Regions from separate parts of the Homo sapiens genome. Here all the other regions are linked to region 2. Evidence: promoter capture Hi-C in 16 types of primary human blood cells and fetal thymus (Javierre and others, 2016). All regions are on one chromosome and are shown on one strand. The core of a region is centred on a gene start or on the middle of the fragment in contact, and the rest is flanking DNA. Distances in the headings are between cores, read along the strand shown.

Region 1 (2,700 bases), core at 112-2,611, 520 kb before region 2:
ATAAGGATAATCAAGAGAGGATTACAGACATTCTGTAAACTGCACACATTGGGTATTAGTATTCTTGGGATTCTGTCTTATGGAATGGGCATCAACCTGTCACTCAGAATGAGGTCTCAGCTTTTAGCTGATCACCCAGGGACTCAGAGGAAATCAGAAAATCTCTCTGGAGGATGACGTAGGCTACTCACCTTGATAGAGACAATGCGGCCTGGGCTGTTGTCATGCATGAAGACACGCAGCATGTGTGGGATCAGCTGGGGCAGGTAGAGCTTAAATTCACCCCCAAGAGCTACCACAATTTGCTCAATGAGAAGAATGATCGTGCTCTGAATTGAGGTGTTCATGACCCAGAATTCCTACAAAGAGAGAAAAGTCAGAGGAGCTGAGTCAGGTCCCTTTCTGATGATATATGAACAAAGGAATCAAGATGGCCAGAAAAGCAAAACTGTAGTGAGCATGGTCTGCGCCGAGATCAACTCCTCACTCCCCTCCTCCCACTGGGCCCTTCTTGTGTCCTATGTTGCAGCTACACTGGACAAACTCAATTGCATTTCCCCAGATGCACCAGGCTACCTCAGTCCTCTGGGCTTTGCTCATGCTGCTTCCTCTGCCTAGAATCCCACTTCTTGCTCAGCTAAGCCCTGTCTGTCTTTCTAGACCTGGCTCTAGCCTCACTTCTCCCATGCAGGCTTTCTTCTTCTCCTTCCATGATCCACTTGGGTCCTTTGCACTCCCTTTGATAGCGATAGCAGTTGTAAGACTTCCTTTGCTTTGCTGTCCTCCCTCTAGACTGTAGGCTACTTAGGGACAAGTATCCTATCTCTGTATCCCCAGAATCTATCAATCAGAGCATCTGGAATATTCTAGAATGAACAGATGACTAAGTCACTCAAAAAACTCTGAAGTGGTCCAGGGTGGACTTGGACCTTACTTTGGTATCACCTGATCTCTACCAGAGGGTGACTCCAGTATTACAAATATTTCCTGGCTTTTCTGGATTTAGATTTTGCTATTAATAGATAGCATCTGATATCTGTCCCTTCCCAAAAATCTATCCATCAGGCCTGAACAGTGCCACAAAATGAGCCCCTTTCTACACCCACATGGTTATTTTCCACACAAGTTACTAAAATAAAAACTTGGCCAACTGGCCACAGATCCTGCCTCAGTGCTGCAAAGCAAATTAGTCCAAGCCTCTAACTCCAGGAAAAGATATCATTTCTATCAACTCAAAAAGACAGCTGCCTACCACCATCTTTAAAAGTTCTGGAGTAGGAAATTTAATGATAATAGAAACCCTACTAATGATGGCAACACATGAATGTTAATATTCTTGGAGCCTCTAAATAGTTCAAAGTAGAAGTCCATAACAACAAGGATAACTCCTCAGATGAAAGGCTTTATAAAAAGATATAGTATTTTTATTTAAAAAGGTATCTTTAAAAGCATAATGGTTTAGAAAGCAAAAACTATACTAGAAGATGCTGGTAAAACTTCCTTTCTCTCTACTTGGAGAGAAGTATTCTCTCTGAAAAAGCTGTGTTTTCTAGGTTAAAAGTGTTGCCAAAGAAACACCACAGATTTCACAGCCTCCAGAGTCTGTCTGATGTTCATCCACTTGAACCCTACTCTGCCTTCTTTAGAGAAGGCCAACCTACCTCCCAGCTGCATTATCATCAGCTCCTCACAGGGGCTTCTCTACCTCAAAGATGTCAGGCAGCCTGCCAAGGGATGTCAGCTGGATCACTGTTCACAAAGACTATTTTCTTCCCAGGCTCGGGGGAGCTCATTAAAATGCCCAGAATCAACAGTCAAAGGAAGAGCCCCCGTTGCACCTTCTCTATCTGGGATGAAATGAAAGCTGTATTTTGCAGGTGTGAGGCTCCCTGCCTCAATTCCCTGTGTTTTGGTCATCAACCTGTTATGACTATAATATGGTCATATTGTATCCTTGTTTAGCCTTCTTGGGGGGATTAAGTCACAGATTACTTCATCCTCCTCCCATGAGGACACTGCTTCTTCCCTTGCCCCTCCTCCCACTAAGACTAGCCATCGGCCTCTTTAGCATTCTGCCTAAATCCTCCTTGTACAGAGGCTTCTGTGGTAAGAGTCAGGGAATAGAGCAGCTTTTAATTATTTATACATGTAGGGAGGTTTTCAGTTCTGAGATCCAGGTGCTGGGAAGTTCCATTTGAAACCAGCCATTTTGATTTTAGTCCTGCTAAAATCAAATAGTCCAGCCATTTTGATTTTAGTCCAAACTAACTACAAAGGTCTGGTGTGAAAGAACAGAAATCTTCCAACTCTTTGAGGACATGCCATCCCTGTGAAGCAATCTTCCCCGTAGAGACATTTAAATTATATAGAACACAAGGAAAAATGATATTGCCCATGGGGTGTCTTCTGGCACCTACTTAATGCATGTTATAAAATCCTGGAACCTGAGCCTTTTCTCATGTGCCACTGCAGTCAAAAGGTGATATGTATGGTTTTGGAGGTAGCAGGGTAAAGCATCACCTTGTTCCTTGGTGCCCAACACGTGTCCATCATATTTAACAGCCCTAAGAAAACCCAATCCCTTCATGGTTTATGAGCAGTAACAAAGAGGGCTTTCATGAAAATAGAAAAGCACCCTTGTGATATTAAAGTAAAATTGCTTTGTTGTGTGTGAGGCAAATAACCCAATTGTCTATTTCT
Region 2 (2,700 bases), core at 22-2,521:
GGCAGGAGACAGCCCTTTCTTTCCTCATGTACAATTGGGGGAGGAATTTCTTATGGTTTTTCAGCTAGAGTTTTCTAAAACTTTTGGTATGCTGATTAAAGTGGGCTCCCACCAATTTGGCTCCTCAGGTGTTGCTTTTTGTTTGTTTGTTTTTCCCAGACAAGGTCTCACCCTGTCGTCCAGGCTGGAGTGTAGTGGCGTGATCTCGGCTCACTGCAGCCTCCCCGGTTCAAGCAATTCTCGTGCCTCAGCCTCCTGAGTAGCTGGGACTGCAGGTGCACACCACCATGCCCTGCTAATTTTGGTATTTTTAGTAGAGACGGGGTTTCACCATGTTGGCCAGGCTGGTCTCGAACTACTGAGTTCAGGTGATCCACCCTCCTTGGCCTCCCAAAGTGCTGGGATAACAGGGGTGAGCCACTGCGCCCAGCCTCATCTTGTGTTGGTAATAACAATAGCTTGTGTGTCCTGCCCATTTACTAAGTGCCGGGCACTGTTCTCTCCTAGAACAAACCGTAGTTAGACTCCTCTGAGTCCTCATCTTGACTAGGCCTCGGCCTTGGACCTCTGTGTCTTCCTGTCCTTGCTGGGCCTGAGCCTGCATAATAAACCAGTTTCAGCAAGAGTCCTGCTAAGTTAGCAAGAACTCCCCCATCCTTGATGTCTCCTCCTAGGAATCTTCCATTCCTGCTCCCTCATTCTGCTCTGGCTATAAATCCCTCCTTGGTCCTTGTTGTATTCGGTGTTGAGCCCAAACTCTCACTCCATGGCAATAACCCTACAGCAAGTCTTGAACAGTACTGGTTTAACAACAGTCCCAATAACGTTTTCTTTAACAACAGCAGTTAGCTCATTTAATCCTCATAAGGATCATATGAGGTAGGTAGCCTAAATAGCCCATTTACACAGGGAAGTGGGAAGGAGAGAGGGTGCCCCCAAGGATGAGACACAAGCTGTTGCCACATCAGCACTTTGCGCCTGGACGGTCCCCCAGTTGTCCTGGCTGCAGGCAGTCCGAACAGTCCGCTTCCTGGAATATTAGCCAGGCAGGATACGCCCTGGGCGACAGAAACTCCAACTTTCGCCAGCGGCCCCCAAGTACTGCCTGGGCGGTGGCGGGAGTCTGGAGCTTGGCTGAAGGCGCGAGCTGCCGACGCCGTCTCCTAGCAACCAAGCGGCGGTCACGTGACCCGCTCCAGCCCGTTTCACGTGGTCTTGAGCTGCGCTGGGGTTGGAGTGGCCGCAACGGGCGGGGCGGGGCGGGGCCGGGCAAGTTTGTTCCCCGAGTTCGGAGCCTAGGAGCCCCCCGCGGCTGCGGCGCAGGTGCCCTCGGCCTGAGTCGGGATGGAGCTGCCTGCTGTGAACCTGAAGGTGGCGACGGGCTGGGGGGAGGGTCCCCTTTGCGGGAGGAAGTGGGACATTTGCATTTTCCCGGAAGGTGGGAGGAAGGACCGGAGTTTTGGGGAAAGAGGGATGGTAGGGAGGAAGGGAAGGTACAGACCCCACGCAAGAAGGAGATGGGCAGGCAGGCCACAGCAGGGAGAGTGATCCAGGCACAGGCCAGCAGGGCGACACTGAGGGGCCGTGGGAGGTGGCAGCGGAGGGCAAGGGCCGCCCCCTCCCGGACTCAGACCCTCCCAGCGGGCAGCGCCGGTCCCAGCATTGCTGTTGCCTGCACGCCCAGAATTCCCCTGGAGGAGGAGGAAGGTGCGCGGGAGGGGCTTGTAGGCGGCTCACCTCCCCCGCGCGGGGTCAGGGACTGGGCTTGCCCCCCGGGTCCCAGCACCGTTTCAGGAGCCTCCTTGTTTGCTAAGTCGGGTTAAGGAAATCAGATGTTCCCAAGCAGTTGGTTTTATAAAGTTTACACATCCAGCGCCCTTATTTCATAATCAAGAAGCGCGAACTCCAACAGAAATTACTTAAAAGCAGAAAACCCCAACTTTGTGCACTGGGGAAAACACTGCAGGGCTTCCTGTGGTGTCTTCATTTCCCGAGCCGTGAGCTCAGTCCGGGTCTGGGTGCCAGCGGCTGTTCTTTTTCTCCCCGCCCAGCCCCGCCGCCCACGTGTCTGGGCTCCATTTGCATTAGAGGGGCTAGGGGCTGTAGTTTTGGTCAGGAAGGTGTGGACCTTGGACCAAACCGGCCATTTTGGGTCTTAGTGCAGCCTCCTTTGAGGCAATATCCAGGAATGTCCTCTTACTCATGAATGACAGAGCATTTAGCTCCCTGTTGGTGTCTGGGACTAAAGGAACCTGAGAAATAGATGGTTACAAAACAATGGCTTAATACACTTTATTATTACACAACATCTGTGCTATGACTTGCTATAGGCATGTTTCCCTTCTTAATCATACTTGCTTCAGCAAACCTTCCTGAAGCTTCCAGTCAAAGGTGGTGGGGAGACATGGCTGGAGCAAGGGAATGGGCTTGGATGGAACGTTCAGCTGGGAAGAAATTTACGTGACAGCAGCCGAGGCTTGTTGGTATCAATATGCACTCTATTCCAGGCAATGTGGGGTTAACACCAACTGCCTTTTCTCTGATGAGGGATTTGCTTAAAATAATTGCTGACAGAGGATCAGGTGAGGGCAGTGGGAGGGACAGAGCTCTAATTTATGGGCTTCTGTGGTGTGCCAGGTTATTTAATCAAGGCAGCCTTATGAGAAAGCTGATATGGTCATCTTTTTACAGATGAGCAAA
Region 3 (2,700 bases), core at 85-2,584, 720 kb before region 2:
GGGAGGGAAGGGGGGGAAAGGGAGGGAAGGGAGGAAAGGAAGGGAAGGAAAGGAAAGAAAGGAAAGAAAAGATAGAAAAGAAAGGTGGCTCGTGCCTGTAATCCCAGCACTTTGGGGAGCTGAGGCAGGCGGATCACTTGAGGCCATGAGTTCGAGATCAGCCTGGCCAACATGGCCAAACCCTGTCTCTACTAAAAATACAAAAATTAGCCGGGCATGGTGTCTTTGCACGCCTATAATCCCAGCTATCCCTTGAACCTAGGAGTTGGAAGTGGCAGTGAGCTGCAGATTGCGCCACTGCACTCCAGCCTGGGGGACAAGAGCGAGACTCCGTCTCAAAAAAAAAAAAAAAAAAAGTGAAACAAAAAGTGTGCCTTAAAATAGATGAAGTACTGTATTATTATTATTATTAAAGGGCTGGAGCCAGAACAAGTTAGCATTTTGTGCCTCGAGATTCAAATCCCAGGTCTACCATTTATTCCTTGGGTGACATTTTTTTGGGGGGAGGGGCTGGAGGACAGGGTCTCACTCTGTCGCCTAGACTGGAGTGAAGTGGCGCGATCTCGGCTCACCGCAACCTCCGCCTACCGCGTTCAAGCAATTCTCCTGCTTCAGGCTCCCGAGTAGATGGGACTACAGGCGCGCGCCACTACCGCCCGGCTAATCCTTGCGTCACTTTAAGCAAGACACTTGATCTCTCTGTGCCTCAGTTTCCTCACCCGCAGAATGAATATCAATAGCTCCTGCTACACAAAACTGTTTGGGCTATTAAATATGTGAATACTCAGAAAGTACCTGGCACAAAGTAGCCTTATCATTGCTATTATTTAGAACAAAGTTATTGTTTCCAGGTTTGGAGGTGGGCTGGCGGAGGGAGGAGAAGACGCACTAGGTTGCCTTTCAGAAAAGGGGTCCAGGCCTTATCCTGCCTCCCAGGTGGACTCGGCCCGGGATCCCGAGCCCCGCCCCCTCCAGGCCCCGCCCCGCCCCGCCCTCGCTGGCCGAGACTCTGTGCTACTCTCGCGCGCTTTGAAAGTGCGCGAGCTCCGACCGAGACCTGGGCCGGCGGTTGGTCGGCCGAAACCATCTGCTACGTTACGTGGGGGGAGGTCAGCTCCTATACAGCCACACTTTTTTCAATCTTCAGCTTTTCAGGCCTAGGTCCTGGTTTTATTTTAGCTTTCAGAGCTTCTCTGTAGGCTTGAATTTCCAGGAGGCAGCCCGAGTCCCTGGGGAGAGGGTCATCGTGGCTCTCGTCGGTGCCTTCCACCTCTGGACAGGCAACCGGTGGGAGAGGACGCCGGTGGGCGGGGGGAGGAGGCGGCCCTAGCGCCATTTTGTGGGAGCGAAGCGGTGGCTGGGCTGCGCTTGGGTCCGTCGCTGCTTCGGTGTCCCTGTCGGGCTTCCCAGCAGCGGCCTAGCGGGTGAGTCGCGGAGCCTTCTCACTGAGGACGCCGTAGGTGCCTCGGCTTCTGCATTGGGGCGGCCCGAGGCAGACGCAGCGGCTTCGGACCCTGCCCCGGGAAGTCAGCCGTGAGACCGGGCCTAGTCCTGCCCGAGCGGGCTCGCGCGGGAGCGTCGTTAGGTCCTGGCACGGGGAGGCCGGTGGCGCCGAAACGGGGGGCCGGGCCCGCGGTGCCGCGTAGCCTGAGGCGGAGGTTGGCCCCGGACCCGGACAGTGCCGGAGCCTTCGGTACTTTGTACTTCGAGGGACGCTGCCAGCTTGGGCCTGGTGCTCCTGCGCCCCACCCCGGGCCGCGCCGAGAAACTCCTCCCTCGGCTGGCACGCGCGGGCTTCTGGGAGGCGACGGCCGGCACCGCCAGGACCTGTCGCCGCGGGCCTTGGGGCTCGGGCTCGCAGAGCCCCCGGAAGCCCCAAAATGAGGAACAGAGGGAAACTTTTCTCCTGTTCTTTACACCTGGTTCACTGCCCATATTCAGTCTTCAGGTTCAGCTGATGGATCGCTTGCTTAGGAAAATCGACTGGGACCTATCACGCCCATGCCTCAGCCAGTTAGGCTCCTCCTCTGCCTTCAGGATTACTTAACGACTAACCCGATTGTCATAAAATAGCTACTGTTTATTGTTCCCTTGCATACCCTAGCTTGTAACCAGCAAGCCACGTTGGACTCACAGTTACAGTTTCAGTACCTGACGCATCATAAGCCTTCAGGGAAAGTTTTTTGAATGAATGAACTGGCGAGGCATCACATTTTGATAGGAAATCACTACCCTTACCTTCACCTCGTCATTTTTCAGGGATAACCAATGCATATACGAATCCAGACAAGCATTTTTCTGGAAGTCAGAACTCTGACATGGTTTGGGTATTATCATTATAAGGAAACAGTTATTCTGACATGAATGTTGTTCATTCATATCTCTTTTCTCTTTAGGAAAAGTAAAAGATGTCTGAATATATTCGGGTAACCGAAGATGAGAACGATGAGCCCATTGAAATACCATCGGAAGACGATGGGACGGTGCTGCTCTCCACGGTTACAGCCCAGTTTCCAGGGGCGTGTGGGCTTCGCTACAGGAATCCAGTGTCTCAGTGTATGAGAGGTGTCCGGCTGGTAGAAGGAATTCTGCATGCCCCAGATGCTGGCTGGGGAAATCTGGTGTATGTTGTCAACTATCCAAAAGGTTTGTTACCATTTGGTTTTTGTAATCATGCTGAAGTGTGTTCAGGTGTGTGTC
Region 4 (2,700 bases), core at 107-2,606, 550 kb before region 2:
GAGATAGTGTTAGATCCAGGTTGAGTAAGGATTTTATAAAATACTAAATAATGATCAGAGATGGGAATAATCAGCCTAGATAAAAGCATATTCAGCAGGATGTCAAAATATACCAGATCCTCATATAAACAGCATGGATTACATTAACAGGCCTCCCTGGGTGAGTAGCGTCTCTTTCGCCTACCTTACGCTCACCCCATGGTTATATAACCTTTTGAACGGAATTTGGAAATTCTTCTGACCCTGTCCTGCTTGCTGATAGAGTTGAGCCAGTGGCTGGCAGGGGCATAATCTAATAGGCGAAACTGGAAACACACAAATTCACAGTCCTCTTGTCTTAGCCCAGAGACTGTACAGGCAAGGAAAGAAAGACTCGCCCCATCTCCCTCCTCCCCTCCTCTGGCCTAAGTTGCCGCTGACTTCACCCAACAGGCACCTGACCCTCCCAGATGAGCTGGGAGGGGCTAAAGCCTGGTGCAGCCATGGTAGGGGTGGAGGTACAGGCAGCAAACAATATTTAAGATGCTGACTTGTGGAGCATTCGGGCTTGGAAGGAAAGCTATAGGCTACCCATTCAGCTCCCCTGTCAGAGACTCAAGCTTTGAGAAAGGCTAGCAAAGAGCAAGGAAAGAGAGAAAACAACAAAGTGGCGAGGCCCTCAGAGTGAAAGCGTAAGGTTCAGTCAGCCTGCTGCAGCTTTGCAGACCTCAGCTGGGCATCTCCAGACTCCCCTGAAGGAAGAGCCTTCCTCACCCAAACCCACAAAAGATGCTGAAAAAGCCTCTCTCAGCTGTGACCTGGCTCTGCATTTTCATCGTGGCCTTTGTCAGCCACCCAGCGTGGCTGCAGAAGCTCTCTAAGCACAAGACACCAGCACAGCCACAGCTCAAAGCGGCCAACTGCTGTGAGGAGGTGAAGGAGCTCAAGGCCCAAGTTGCCAACCTTAGCAGCCTGCTGAGTGAACTGAACAAGAAGCAGGAGAGGGACTGGGTCAGCGTGGTCATGCAGGTGATGGAGCTGGAGAGCAACAGCAAGCGCATGGAGTCGCGGCTCACAGATGCTGAGAGCAAGTACTCCGAGATGAACAACCAAATTGACATCATGCAGCTGCAGGCAGCACAGACGGTCACTCAGACCTCCGCAGGTAAGGAGACCAGTCCCCTGAGGGAGCGTGGAGTGCCTCCCCATCTACAGCACTGCTTCTACATATCCTGGTCATCAGAACCACTACTGGGGCCTCTTTTGTGGGTACACTTTCCCTTTAGTAAAGGCTTATGCAGTATTTCCTTTGACTTCTAATGCTATGTAAGTTTACCTAACACCTTCACGGGTCTCTTTTATCCACACAGTGTTTCAGCCTACCATCTTGGAGTGCTGAGATACTACATGGTTTGCCCAAAGTCACCCAGCAAGTCTTAGAAGCAGGGTTCAAGTCTTCCTGATTGGTGTAGCTCTGCTACTTCCTCACCAAGAGCTGACAGGCTATATCTCAAGAAATTCCAAGGAAGCACCAAACTGTAACAGCTGTTCCTCTGGAAGCAAAGTTTTGCCAGAAACAGTTCTCTGGTGTTCCTAAGATTTACCAGGAATGAGCATTAATGGAATTTTGTGTCCTCTCTCTGTAAACGTAACTCTTCTCATTGGCTCAGAGTTAAGTGTAGAGACACATAACCATGTGAAGAGTCCCTTTGTGTTCAGGAAGGATGCGGCTCCTTAAGGTTCCTCAATTGTGATACGTCTATTTTTTTCCATGGTCTTAAATGAATTTCTCCGAATACAGGATTTTTTAAATGCAATGCTGAAATATAGACTTAATAGGCCAAAAATAAGATAAATTTAATCTTTCTTTTGCAAAATAACTTTTATTTCTGGTTAGCTCAGCTCAGGTGGGCCAACATGAATTTACGGTTTAGAGATAAAAATTTGGTTTTCTGAAATTATCAGGAAAATATTAGTTGTAAGGAGCATATCCTATAGACATGTCATTTCTTGCTGATATAAAAACCATTGGTCCCATTATAAACTACATGAAGAACAAAGACATGATCAGCTTCTACTGACTAAGTCAATGGTTAACCTCAGCTCAAATTAAGAAAAAGTTTTAACATGAAACCAAGCTTGAAAATTCTGTTACCTGAACCAACATGTATCAATCACTTTCTAAGCATGGACTTCCGGGCCCTCAGTTTGGGATTAGAAAGGTATTCTCAGGCCATTTTCCAGACAAGTGAGTCCTGATTTGGTCTGTGAGATGAAACCAGACATGCGGAAGACCAGGCCAGACAGAGGAATCTGACCGTGCCACTTCCTGCTCATCCAAACAGGAGGCTTTCTCACCATCCTGCAAGGAGGTTCTTGGGGTCAAGTGCAGCTCTCCCACCAGGTCTCTTGCTCTTCTTGCCCAGGACATCATTCCTTATTTTTCTTCTCTATGACCAAGTGCTCAGTTACCCTTATATTCTATAAGTAGGTAGTCCCTTAGAGGAAGCAGTAAGTTGGTGCTTTCACCACTAAGACGAAATGAAGAATAGTGATGGCGAAGGCACACGTACTCTACCTCCCTTTCCCAAGGTGCTCTGCAAGAGAACCTATGTGCCTCAGACAACTCCCATCTGCCATCTTGGTGCTCCTCTCTAAGGTCCCAGTGCAGTGGTCACCAAGAAAAGCACCCCGAGACATAGCAGGCAGGAAGCTTCTCTT
Region 5 (2,700 bases), core at 85-2,584, 640 kb before region 2:
CTGCACTCCAGCCTGGGCGACAGAGCGAGACTCCGTCTCAAAAACAAAACAAAACAAAAAAAAGAGTAAGGGAAAATACTCACCACTCTCTCCAGAATTACATCATTGGCATCAACTAGTAAATCAAACTTGTCTTCCAGCTCAGTCACTTTACTTCGATCCTTAATGTTGCTGCGACACCCATGGTACTGCATTACTCTGCTCATGCTAAGGAAAGGAAAACCAAGGTTAGCTTGTAGATTTTTATTTCACTTGTTTACATTCTGTGAGAGAGAATGTTCAAATGATGTGGCTCAGACTGTTCCCAACACATCTTTTTTTTTTTTTTTGAGACAGTCTTGCTCTGTTGCCCAGGCTGGAGTTCAGTGGCATGATCTTGGCTCTCTGCAACCTCAACCTCCCGGGTTCAAGCGATTCTCGTGTCTCAGCCTCCTGAGTAGCTGGGATTATAGGCACATGCCAACAGGTCTGGTTAATTTTTGTATTTTTAGTAAAGATGAGGTTTTGCCATGTTGGCCAGGCTGCTCTCGAACTCCTGACCCGAAGTGATCTGCCTGCCTCCGACTCCCGGATTCAAGCGATTCTCATGCCTCAGCCTCCTGAGTAGCTGGGATTATGGGCACACGCCACCAGGTCTGGCTAATTTTTGTATTTTTAGTAAAGATGACGTTTCACCACGTTGGCCAGGCTGGTCTCGAACTCTTGACCTGAAGTGATCCACCTGCCTCGGCCTCCCAAAGTTCTGGGATTACAGGTGTGAGCCATGAGCCCAGCCTTTTTCTTTCTTTCTTTCTTTCTTTTTTTTTTTTTTTTTTTTAAAGAGACAGGGTCTTGCTCTGTTACCCAGGCTGGAATGCAGCAGTACAATCACAGCTCCCTGTAGCCTTGAACTCCTGGGCTCAAGTGATACTCCCACCTCAGCCTCCCAAGTAGCTGTGACTTGGGAGTGGTGCACCACCACTCCCAGCTACTTTAAAAATTTTTTGTAGGGATGGAGTCTCCCTACGTTGCCCAGGCTGGTCTTGAACTCCTGGGCTCAAGCGATCCTTCTGCCTTTGCCTCCCAAAGCACTAGGATTACAGGCATGAGCCGCCATGTCTGGCCCCTGATACTTTTTGATGAAACCAATAAAACTTGCACCCTAGCTGGGCGCAGTGGCTCACACCTGTAATCCTAGCACTTCAGGAGTGGTCACGACTTCGAGACCAGCCTGGCCAACATGGTGAAACCCCATCTCTACTAAAAATACAAAAAACTGGCTAGGCGCAGTGGCTTATACCTGTAATCCCAACACTATGGGAGGCTGAGGTGGGTGGATCACAAGGTCAGGAGTTCGAGACCAGCCTGGCCAACATGGTGAAACCTCCTCTACTAAAAATACAAAAATTAGCCGGGAATGGTCGTACATGCCTGTTATCCCAGCTACTGGGGAGGCTGAGGCACAAGAATCGCTTGATCTTGGGAGGTGGAGGTTGCTGCGAGCCGAGATCACGCCACTGCACTTCAGCCTGGGCGACAGAGCAAGACTCCGTACTCCCCCCCAACAAAAAAAAAAAAGCTGGTCGTGGTGGTGTACACCTATAATCCCAGCTACTCGGGAGGCTGAGGCAGGAGAATCGCTTGAACCTGGGAGGCGCAGGTTGCAGTGAGCCGAGATTGAGCCAATGCACTCCAGCCTGGGTGATGGAGCGAGACTCCATCTCAAAAAAAATAAAAATAAAAATAAAAATACCTGCTACTCTACAAGTTGTGGGAAAGAATCTTGGATCTGGCAAGGCGCGGTGGCTCACGCCTGTAATCCCAGCACTTTGGGAGGCCGAGGCAGGTGGATCACGAGGTCAGGAGATCGAGACCATCCTGGCTAACATGTTGAAACCCTGTCTCTACTAAAAATACAAAAAATTAGCTGGGCGTGTTGACGGGCACCTGTAGTCCCAGCTACTCAGGAGGCTGAGGCAGGAGAATAGCGTGAACCTGGGAGGCGGAGCTTGCAGTGAGCCGAGATCATGCCACCGCACTCCAGCCTGGGCAATAGAGCGAGACTCCGTCTCAAAAAAAAAAAAGAATCTTGGCTCTAAGTGTTCACGTCCCATTTAATTAAAAAAGATTTGTACAAAAGTCAATATATTTTTTCAGTACAAAAGTCAATACATTTTTTAAAGGCTAAACTAAAAATATACCAAGTAATATTTCCCTAATCAAAATCCATTGCTTCAATTTTCACATTTTATAGCTCTTCATACCACAGAAAATGTTTAAGGAAAAATAAATTTCAGGAAAAATTTATCTACTTCTTTGTTTTCATTTCTTTTCACTAACACAAGAAAACAAAGTACAGTACTTACCACTGAAGCAACCTGTCTCCCTGTGTTTCGCAAAATGCTTGGAAGCCAGGAAAACTTCGGTAAAAATCATACTCATCGCCAAACTGTGGTAGGCCCCCAGATGCCTTGGTGACTGCCACCACGGACCCAAGAGCAAACTGTCAAAAACAAGAAAAGATGGCATGTTTACACAGGGATCCCCATTCATTTGGTATGTCATTTTTTTGATCTATCGTATACAAGGTATCTACTCTTCATCCATCAAAAAAAGCACTCATTTAGTGCCAAACCCCAATCTAATCTAGGCCCTGAGAATACAATACTGAACAGGAAACCAAGTTTGGAGCTTATATTCTTGGGAGAGTTGAGAGACAGA

What was found. Contacts are between HindIII fragments. The CHiCAGO score rates a contact against its expected background, and 5 or more counts as called.
Region 1: a fragment that was not itself captured here is called in contact with the fragment with the promoter of AGTRAP in region 2 in 1 of 17 cell types (total CD4 T cells); the score reaches 5.4 in total CD4 T cells.
Region 3: a contact is called between the fragment with the promoter of TARDBP here and the fragment with the promoter of AGTRAP in region 2, in 2 of 17 cell types (naive CD4 T cells and total B cells). The highest score is 7.2, in naive CD4 T cells.
Region 4: a contact is called between a fragment that was not itself captured here and the fragment with the promoter of AGTRAP in region 2, in 1 of 17 cell types (endothelial precursors). The highest score is 5.1, in endothelial precursors.
Region 5: a contact is called between a fragment that was not itself captured here and the fragment with the promoter of AGTRAP in region 2, in 6 of 17 cell types (fetal thymus, erythroblasts, total CD8 T cells and 3 more). The highest score is 8.2, in fetal thymus.

The regions. Positions count from the first base shown.
Region 1 is chr1:11,213,208-11,215,907 of GRCh38, forward strand. MTOR (mechanistic target of rapamycin kinase) reads right to left here. Exons shown (of 58, transcript NM_004958.4): 21 at 192-359. Among named protein-coding and RNA genes, the nearest start is that of ANGPTL7, 25 kb to the left of the region's middle. The HindIII fragment of the contact is 3,623 bases long and covers 1-2,700 here.
Region 2 is chr1:11,734,865-11,737,564 of GRCh38, forward strand. AGTRAP (angiotensin II receptor associated protein) reads left to right here and starts at 1,272. Exons shown (of 5, transcript NM_020350.5): 1 at 1,272-1,371. The coding sequence starts at 1,345. The HindIII fragment of the contact is 3,809 bases long and covers 1-2,376 here.
Region 3 is chr1:11,011,320-11,014,019 of GRCh38, forward strand. It overlaps TARDBP (TAR DNA binding protein), which reads left to right and starts at 1,335. Exons shown (of 6, transcript NM_007375.4): 1 at 1,335-1,424; 2 at 2,397-2,646. The coding sequence starts at 2,409. RefSeq lists silencers at 768-997, 2,407-2,653 and enhancers at 1,038-1,367, 1,078-2,045. The HindIII fragment of the contact is 20,579 bases long and covers 1-2,700 here.
Region 4 is chr1:11,188,812-11,191,511 of GRCh38, forward strand. The region is part of intron 28 of MTOR (mechanistic target of rapamycin kinase); the gene reads right to left. ANGPTL7 (angiopoietin like 7) reads left to right here and starts at 544. Exons shown (of 5, transcript NM_021146.4): 1 at 544-1,144. The coding sequence starts at 769. RefSeq lists an enhancer at 897-1,397. The HindIII fragment of the contact is 1,518 bases long and covers 598-2,115 here.
Region 5 is chr1:11,095,675-11,098,374 of GRCh38, forward strand. It overlaps EXOSC10 (exosome component 10), which reads right to left. Exons shown (of 25, transcript NM_001001998.3): 2 at 2,346-2,482; 3 at 84-207. Among named protein-coding and RNA genes, the nearest start is that of EXOSC10-AS1, 2.6 kb to the right of the region's middle. The HindIII fragment of the contact is 3,359 bases long and covers 1-2,700 here.